2 separate regions of the Homo sapiens genome follow, and region 1 is linked to region 2. Evidence: promoter capture Hi-C in 16 types of primary human blood cells and fetal thymus (Javierre and others, 2016). All regions are on one chromosome and are shown on one strand. Each heading gives the region's core, a stretch centred on a gene start or on the middle of the fragment in contact. The rest is flanking DNA. Distances are from core to core; before and after follow the strand shown.

Region 1 (4,875 bases), core at 2,158-4,657, 100 kb before region 2:
AAGCAAACAAACAAACCAACAAACCAGCCTCATTTCCTTGTCTCTGGTATGTTGAGAAAGTGGACCCTAGAGTTCAGTACCACTCCTCCTACCTTTGAGCCCAACTCATGATTTAAGATGTTGAAGTGCCCAATAAGGACCACATGGAAGCCTCCCTCAAAGAGTGTGGCACATGCTGCAACCCATAGGAAAGGGATTAGAATGCAGGTTTTTTTTCCATTTAGGGAGGAAGGAGCAGGAAATTTAGTAGGTAAGTAAAAGTAAGTACAAAGGCACAGCTACGAAGAAAAGGTACTTTTTCTGCAACTAGATATGCTACCACTAGGTGGAGCCAGACTCTCCTGGCATGGAACTTTTTTTTTTTTTTTTTTTTGACACGGAGTCTCGCCCTTGTCGCCCAGGCTGGAGTGCTGTGGCGCGATCTCGGCTCACTGCAACCTCCACCTCCCGAGTTCAAACAATTCTTCTGCCTCAGCCTCTCGAGTAGCTGGAATTACACGCGCCCGCCACCACACCTGGCTAAATTTTTTTGTAGTTTTAGTAGAGACGGGGTTTCACCATGTTGGCCAGGCTGGTTTTGAACTCCTGACCTCAAGTGATCCGCCCGCGTCGGCCTTCCAAAGTGCTAGGATTACAGGCGTGAGCCACCACGCCCAGTCTGACATGGAACTTCTAAACAGTGATGCTACGTAACAGGCCTGGTTCGCTGGAGATAAGTAAGAGGGGATAAAAATAGTTAACCTTACCTATCTGATTGGCAAAAATTCAAAAGCTTGATAGGGAGTCTATCTGAGCCTGGGCAGGTTCTGGAAGCTGCCCAATTTAAAAAAAACAATGGCGCCTGGTGCGGCGGCTCACGCCTGTAATCTCAGCACTTTGGGAGGCCGAGGCAGGTGGATCACGAGGTTAGGAGTTCAAGACCAGCCTGACCAACATGGTAAAACCCCGTTTCTACCAAAAATACAAAAATTAGCTGGGCGTGGTGGCACGCGCCTGTAATCCCAGCTACTGAGGAGGCTGAGGCAGGACAATCGCGTGAACCCAGGAGGCGGAGGTTTCAGTGAGCCGAGATCACGCCACTGCACTCCAGCCTGGGCAACAGAGCAAGTCTCCGTCTCAAAAAAAAAAAAAAAAAAAAAAAGGAAAATAAAAGACAAATGGCTGGGCATGGTGGCTCACACCTATAATCCAAGCACTTTGGAAGGCTGAGGTGGAAGGATTGCTTGGGGCCAAGAGTTTGAGACTAGCCTGGGCAACAAAGTGAGACCCTGTCTCTATGAGAAAATTAAAAAAAAAAAGGCCACCTTTTTGATACGAAAGGAGGGGAAATAAGAAAGCATACTATATTTGCTTATTTTTGCAGAAACAAACACAGGAAGGAAAATAAACTAAATTGGTTATTTCAAGAGGTAGATAAGGTCTAGATGAAATAGATACATGATCGGCCGGGCGCGGTGGCTCACACCTGTAATCCCAGGACTTTGGGAGACTGAGGCGGGCGGATCACGAGGTCAGGAGATCGAGACCATCCTGGCTAACACGGTGAAACCCAGTCTCTACTGAAAATACAAAAAATTGGCCGGGCGTGGTGGTGGGCACCTGTAGTCCCAGCGACTTGGGAGGCTGAGGCAGGAGAATGGTGTGAACCCCAGAGGCGGAGCTTGCAGTGAGCCCAGATCGCGCCACTGCACTCTAGCCTGGGCGACAGAGCGAGACTCTGTCTCAAAAAAATAAAAATAAAAATAGATACATGATGGAGTATTACTTCTCTGAGTTTATTTACCATTTTGTCTAGTTTTGACTTCTGGATCCATGTTAATGTTTTGCACATTAAAAAAAGTTGACAAGAAAAAATATGCAGAACATGCTTGTCCTCAGGCTTGTCAGAGACTCCTATAACCATATAAAGAAGCTGAGGGTTGATCATGCTTGAGCTATGATACTTATTAAAATAGTACTAGAAAGACAAATAGAATGTAGCATGGCAAAAGAGCTGCACATTTTGGGAGAAGGCATTTATTTGTAGGGGCTGAAATGTGCTAGCTCGAGAATCAGACCTAAGAATTACAAGGTGATTAACCAAAGGAAAAAGTCTCTGGAAGTAGAAAACTAAAAAGAAGGTTTGGAACAGGCTGGAAGTGAGATTGAAGCATATCACAGAAATGTTAGACATTCTTCAATGTCAGTGCCTTGGATGAATTTATAAGGCTTTGCCTTAAAGTTACTTGTGGGCTTATAAAGCCTGTGTCAAAGCTAAACAAAGCCAGACAATAGTTTAGACAAGAAGTAAGGATAGGTATTTATTTATTTATTTGAGATGGAGTTTCACTCTTGTCGCCCAGGCTGGAGGGTAATGGCGCGATCTTGGCTCACCGCAACCTCCGTGTCCGGGGTTCAAGCGATTCTCCTGCCTCAGCCTCCTGAATAGCTGGGATTACAGGCATGCACCACCACGCCCGGCTAATTTTTTTGTATTTTTAGTGGAGACAGCGTTTCTCCATGTTGGTCAGGCTGGTTTTGAACTTTTGACCCCAGGTGATCTGCCCACCTCGGCCTCCCAAAGTGTTGGGATTACAGGCGTGAGCCACTGCACCCGGCCTAGGATAGGTTTTTTTAAGTAGTAACTATTGCAGTAGGGAAGAGGGCCCAAGGTGAACTGAACTTAACTTCCTTAAAAAAAAAAAAAATGCAGGAGGCCTTTTGAAGGCTGGGATGTGCTAAGGGATAGGCATGAAGATATTAAGGAGAATTGCTCCATGTGACTAGACAATCTGGATTTGTGAATTGGCTCTTGTCCAGAAGAGAAATAAGCACCTATTTTTACGACAGGAGCTAGTAGTGCAAGTTAGAGCAAGGCACCCACCTGGTTGGGAGCTGGAGCAAGATTTATTTCCTCAAATGTTTGCATTTCAAAGAAACTCTCAGGTCCCAGTGAAAATAGCTCTGGGTAGAAGATTTACATCTCAAAGAGGCAGAGAAAGATGTTTTAATTGCAAGCTTTCTTTCTAAGTAATTGCACTAAGATGAAGTTCAGGGGCCTGTGTCTATTGCTAGGTTTGGGCTGGGATGCACAGTAAATTTTTCTGACAGCGATGAGCTTTTTCAGGCAGGCATTTTAAGCGGGGGGCTGAGGTCCTCCTAGGGACAAGGCCTTAAGTTGCTAGAAGCCATGCTAGAGCTTGGTTAAGGAGAGTCTTTGTTACCTGGCGTCTCTCTGCAGTGCCGTTTCAATGCCTTAGAGCAAGAGAGTGGTGGATGGACAGTGATAGTGATTCACGTGCGCAATTCACAACTTGCATTAGCAACCAGGCAAAAGCAAGTGCTGCTTTTAGAGGCCTTGGGAAGAATTTCCACAAGTTTCCGGCCATTGGGATACAGGGGAAAAGGGATTGGAGGGAGGCTCATCGGGAACAATACATTAGGTAATGTTGGGGTTTATAAATCGATACCCCCAAATATAGTACTGAACCGAAGAAGCAACCTGAAGATCTCTCTGACCTTCCCCGCTCCACACGGTCTCTCCCAAAAAGCTGAAGTTCCTTTATTTGCCTAAGATCCAGACCCTCCAAGGAGAACAGTAGGTTTCTTTTCCTCCTGTAAGACCAAAAATGTAACCACACCTGAACAGACCTTTTCATGAGTTAATGCCTGCTTCTCATGGTCATCTAAATTCCAAAGAAAACTATTTACAAGTTAATTTGTTTCCTGATCAAATCATTCTCTTTAGTAATCATTTATTGCCCATCAACAGAATTCCTTTTCTCCCGCAGGATCCAAACTCATTCTTTCTGTAACCTCATGATGGCGTATAAGCTTTTGCACCTCACTGGGAGGTTGGGTCTTCATTCTGAAGGCTTCTATGTATACATATTAAATAAGTTTGTATGCCTTTTTTCCTATTAATCTGCCTTGCGTCAGTGATTTTCAGCAAACTTCAGGGAGCCAAAGGCCTTGGCTCCCACAGTGATAATAAACAATATGACTTTTGGCTATCAAAATTCCTGCTGTTAGTTAAGGAAAAATTGTGACAGTTTCTGAAATGGACAAATACAGGCATCCTTCCAGTGGATTACTAGGATTTGTCTAGACTAGAGGACAGGATGCTTCTGGGGGTTTTCTGATTCTCTACAGGTCAGTATCCTTCCTTGTCTTGTACTGTTTTGCAACTCTAGAAAGAAAAGTTAAATATGTAGAAGCCTGACAGTGATACAAATGATCCCTGTTCATATTAATACAAATGCAAATTGTTTGCCTGGTAGAGATACAATTGATTTTCTCTCTGTAGAAAAAAAGATGATCCCAGCCAGGCGTGGTGGCTCACCCTGCAATTCCAGCACTTTGGGAGGCCGAGACAGGCAAATCACAAGGTCAGGAGTTCGAGACCAGCCTGGCCAATATGGTGAAACCCTGTCTCTACTAAAAATACAAAAATTAGCCAGGCGTGGTGGTGGGCGCCTGTAATCCCAGCTACTCTGGAGGGTGAGGCAGGAGAATTGCTTGAATCTGGGAGGCGGAGTTTGCAGTGAGCTGAGTCCTCGCCATTGCATTCCAGCTTGGGCAACAGAGTGAGATTACATCTCAAAAAAAAAAAAAAAAAAAAAAGAATCCCAGAAATTAAATGTTTTATATTTTTGCCACAAGAAAACACGTGCAAGTATGAAACTTTTTGTAAGGTCCTCTGAGCTGGCTGCACTATGGTCAAGCCACGGTGACATTCCCCCACCCTTGTGATAATGTACTTTGTGATACTCCTGTCCTTGTGAATGTACTTTGTAACATTCCTCCCCACCCTTGTGACAATACATCCTCCCTGCCCTTGTGACAATACACCCTCCCTGCCCTTGTGAATGTACTTTGTAACATCCTCCCCACCCT
Region 2 (4,619 bases), core at 2,026-4,525:
CCTGGGTGACAGAGTGAGACCCTGTCTAAAAAAAGAAAAAAAAAGTCAAATACTAAGGAACAAATAGCAAATCATACACAAAATCCCTATAAGGAAGCTATAAGATACGAAAAAGCAATAAAAACACAAATAAATGAAGAAACAGGCCACACTCAATATTTTAAAGACGTAAATTATTTCTAAATGATCTATAGATTCAATGTAATTCCAATAAAATCCTAAAGGGTGTGTGCATGTGTGTGTGTGTGTGTGTGTGTGTGTGTGTGTGTGTATGTGTAGAGGTAAACGACCAAGAATAACCAAAAAAGAAGAGCAAAGTGAGAAGCCTTGCTCTACTGGATATCAAGACATTTTATCAATCTAAAATATTTGGAACAATGTGGTATGGGCACAAGGAAGTGCTGATTTCCATCACAGTCAGGCCAGTAATTACCTTTGGGAAGGGAGAGGTCTGTTATCTGGAAGCAGCATATGGGAAGCTTCTGGGTGCTGCTAAAGTTTCATTTCTTAGCTAGGATGATAATTACACAGGTATTTGCCTTTCTTGTAATTTATTAAACTGCACATTTAATGTTTTATATCTTTCTCTGTATGTGTAATTTTACAACAAACCTTCTCCAAGTCACTGGAGATGTAGATGTGGGGCTGGAGTGAGTTGGTGGTGAGGGGCTTTCTTCCACACTCTTCTATCTTCATGCACATCTATACTGTCACATACGTACCTATACTCTCAGCACTTTGGGAGGCTGAGGCAGGATTGTTTGTGCCTAGGAGTTCGAGACCAGCCTGGCCAACATGGTGAGAACTCGTTTCTACCAAAAATACAAAAGTTAGCAGGGTGTGGTGGTGTGTGCCTGTATTCCCAGGTGCTTGGGAGGCTGAGGTGGGAGGATCACCTGAGCCTGGAAGGTTGAGGCTGCAGTAAGCTGAGATTGTGTCACTGCACTCCATCCAGCCTGGGCAACAGAGTGAGACCCTGTCTCAACATAAATAAATAAATAAAATAAAATAAAGAGAAGCTGCTGTCAAGCAAGCCTGGATCTTGCCCTCTCTCTCGATTTTCTATTTCATGAGGTAATAGATTTACTTTTTAGAAAAGCCACTTTGAGATGGGGTTTCTATTAGTTACAGCTACAAGGAACCAGACTGAACTAAATAAATGTCCAGGGCAGTGGGGTTTGGAGGAAGTTGTGTGGGGAACAGATTCAAGAGGAAGTAGGGGTAGAATCAATGGGACGCAATCACTGATTGGATGATGATGGTTAGAAGGGGTAATGTCCTTAAAATGGATGTACTGTTTTCCCAGTCTATTAGATGGCATCATGTACCATTAAGGATGAGATGCATAATGATATTAAAGATGTCAAAATACAAAAAAAGTGTCTTAGAATCAACTAAAGAAAGTAGTATAAGTGTATATTTTCTTTTTTTATTTTTGCAAATATGTTACTGTTTTATTAAGCCATAAAGTTTTCAGGTGGTTAGTTACACACAGTAATGAACAACTGAGGGGATGTTTAATTTTTTTCTCTAGATCTTGGGCCCTTGGTGTTAACTTTATATACATGTATTTACTATTGTGAACTGTAAACTTAGAGACCTCTATTTTTTTTTTTTTTTTTTGAGATGGAATTTCACTCTTGTTGCCCAGGCTGGAGTGCAATGGTGCGATCTCAGCTCACTGCAACCTCTGCCTCCCGGGTTCAAGCAATTCTCCTGCCTCAGCCTCCCGAGTAGCTTGGATTACAGGCGCCTGACACCGTGCCCAGCTAATTTTATATTTTTAGTAGAGACACGGTTTCACCGTGTTGATCAGGCTGGTCTTGAACTCCTGACCTCAAGTGATTGGCCACCCTCGTCCCCTCAAAGTGCTGGGATTACAGGTGTAAGCCGCAGCGCCTGGCTGAGACCTCTATTTCTAAGAGGTTGTTGTTTGTAAATATGAAAGCTGGGTATGTTCATTTTGTTACCTATACTGATGAGTTAATTTAGTTTCTAATACATTTAATTTTATTTAATTAATTATTTTCCAGATACACAGAGCAAATAGCTTCTAATAGATTTTAAATTTACAAAAGTATAACTTTTTTTTGCAGTTTTTCTTCTTGGGTGCTATTTTATTTTCTTCTATCAATATGTGAGTATTTTTTGCAAATCAGTACTTTGAACCAACAAATAGGAAATATTAGCTTAACAAAAAAGATATTCACAATCTTTGTAAGAAAAGGTTGCAGTATTATTAATGCTATAATGACATTATGTATTAAATGTATGATATCACTGGGGAAGAACTGAGTAATTCTATTACAGCTGCAGGGTAGCATTTGAGAACTTCATGACATAGGAGCAGGAATAAGACAGGAGGTTCGAAGCAGCAGAGAGGTTTCGTATTGATTCAGTTTCAAATGAATCCTGTAGTAAATTTTCCCTCGTTTGTGGCAAAATGACAAAATTAAAGACAAAGTAGTGAGTCTTTGTGTGAAACTAAATTATTCAAACTAAAGATTTATATATTTTTTAAAACTTTTCTATTCGTATTTTTTTGTGTGTTTTGTATCTCTTTCCCCTCCATTCCTTTTTACCAATTTATTCAGAAATGATCACTTTCCCATTTTGTTAAAATTTCCTTTTTCTATTTCTATGAATTGATAATTATGGCCAATGATTAATTTCATTTATTTATTTATTTTGAGATACCTAAGCTGAAGTACAGTGGCACGGTCATATTTCACTGAATCCTCTATCTCTGGGACTTAAGTTACCCTTTTGCCTTGCCTCAGCCCCACCTGAAACTATAGGCAAGTACCACCATGCCATGCTAATTTTTTTACTTTTATTTTTAGTAGAGAAGAGGTTGCCCTATGTTGCCCAGGCTGGTCTCAAACTCCTGAGTTCAAGTGATCCTTCTGCCTTGGCCTCCCAAAGTATTGGGATTTGAGCCAATGTGCCAAGCCAACAGATGCTTAATTTAGAGAAAGTTTTTATTTTGCAAGAAAGAAAGGCACAAAAACCCAAAACCAACACCAACTCTTGTTAATCTCTTCGTCTACTTCCTACTTGACACAGGTCCATGAAACCCCCAGATCCAGGAACAACGCTAGCAGGTGATTCTTAGGATTGGTTTTTTCTTTAGAACCTGTTAATTCCACTGTATAAATAACCTCCCCGAGATAACCAGAAGCCTCCCCTGCACTGGGCATTGTGCCAGGGGAGGGTGAGGCTGGAAACCTTGGTTGGCCCCACTGGGCTTCCTCCATAAAGCTTTCTGCACCTCATTCCACATCAGGAGCGTTTTTGGAGAAAGCTGCACTCTGTTGAGCTCCAGGGCGCAGTGGAGGGAGGGAGTGAAGGAGCTCTCTGTACCCAAGGAAAGTGCAGCTGAGACTCAGACAAGGTCTGTGAGTTGGGGGAATCCTGTTTTCAGCTTAGGTCTGCTTTTGGTCTCAGAGATGTGTGAAGTTTAAACAAAAGGCAAGGGGTTTTGGAGTCTTTGTAAGACTGGACAGGGGTGGGGCAGGGATGTAGAGAAAAATGATGGCCAAGATGGTGACCTTCATCTTGCTTTCTTTAGATTACAATGAACCAACTCAGCTTCCTGCTGTTTCTCATAGCGACCACCAGAGGATGGAGTACAGGTGAGTCACGCTGCTAGGGACAGCAGTTCCTTCAGCTGGATGACTTCCGGGATCCTGGTCTCTCCCAGGACACAGAGCATGTCCTTGAGATGCACAGCGGCTGGCTTGCATGTAGACTGAGTGCCGATTTCTGGTCTCTGGCGGAATCTGGCCTGTGGCAGTGAAGGTATTGCTTGAGGCATGTCCTGGGTCCAGGCTCTGTGCTTTTGTGTGGCCCTGAGGGGGCTGTGGCAAGAACTGTGTCACCTTCCAGCCACTGCCCACTCCTGTGGCCTTGGCTGTGGGATTTCCATGGGAACTACATGGTCTGCTTTGTGCCTGGAGAATGTTCTCTCCACAGTTTTCCTCTCTACAACAAGAATAACAATGACATTTTAAAATTTATATTTTTCTTCACGTCTAAAAATTTTTTTTTTAAAGAAAAGGCTGTTTCGAAATATCTTCTTACTTCATCTTTGCAAAAGCACTGTTTATTAACTGTGTTTTAGGTATGAGGAAACTGAGGTCAGTCACCTCTGACCTCACAGCTTTCCCCTAGACTGTTCGAATAGTTTGCAGACTTTTTGGAGTAGAGATTAGTCTCACCACTCCCTACTTCACACCCCATGTTTCAGCCATATTAAGCAGCTTGTAGTTCTACAGCTGGACTACGCTGTATTTTTTTTTTTTTCTCTAGGCCTTTGGATATGCTGTTTTCCCTGCCTTGGATTGGCTTCCTACTGATAAATCATGTTTATTCTCTCAGAATAAGCTAAGATGTCACCTGGACTGGAAGGTCTTCTGTGACTAAGACATGAGACAACCCGTCTTGCCTTCTTCTCCCAGGCAACTGCCCCGCTTACTGTCTGGCGTTTCCATTCTCCACTGTTACCTCAGAGTCTTTCTTTTGTTCTCTTGAGTTTGCCTTTCTTCTACCATTTATTCTTGTCAATACAATTTTCTGTTGACTTGTTAGCAATTCCCTCTAGAGGCAAGCTCTTGCTG

Evidence for each region. Contacts are between HindIII fragments. The CHiCAGO score rates a contact against its expected background, and 5 or more counts as called.
Region 1: a fragment that was not itself captured here is called in contact with the fragment with the promoter of ITLN1 in region 2 in 4 of 17 cell types (megakaryocytes, erythroblasts, naive CD8 T cells and 1 more); the score reaches 6.9 in megakaryocytes.

Annotation. Positions count from the first base shown.
Region 1 is chr1:160,985,885-160,990,759 of GRCh38, reverse strand. No RefSeq gene overlaps it. Among named protein-coding and RNA genes, the nearest start is that of F11R, 33 kb to the left of the region's middle. RefSeq lists a silencer at 3,067-3,361. The HindIII fragment of the contact is 816 bases long and covers 3,000-3,815 here.
Region 2 is chr1:160,883,836-160,888,454 of GRCh38, reverse strand. ITLN1 (intelectin 1) reads left to right here and starts at 3,275. Exons shown (of 8, transcript NM_017625.3): 1 at 3,275-3,394; 2 at 3,572-3,635. The coding sequence starts at 3,578. The HindIII fragment of the contact is 4,692 bases long and covers 3,264-4,619 here.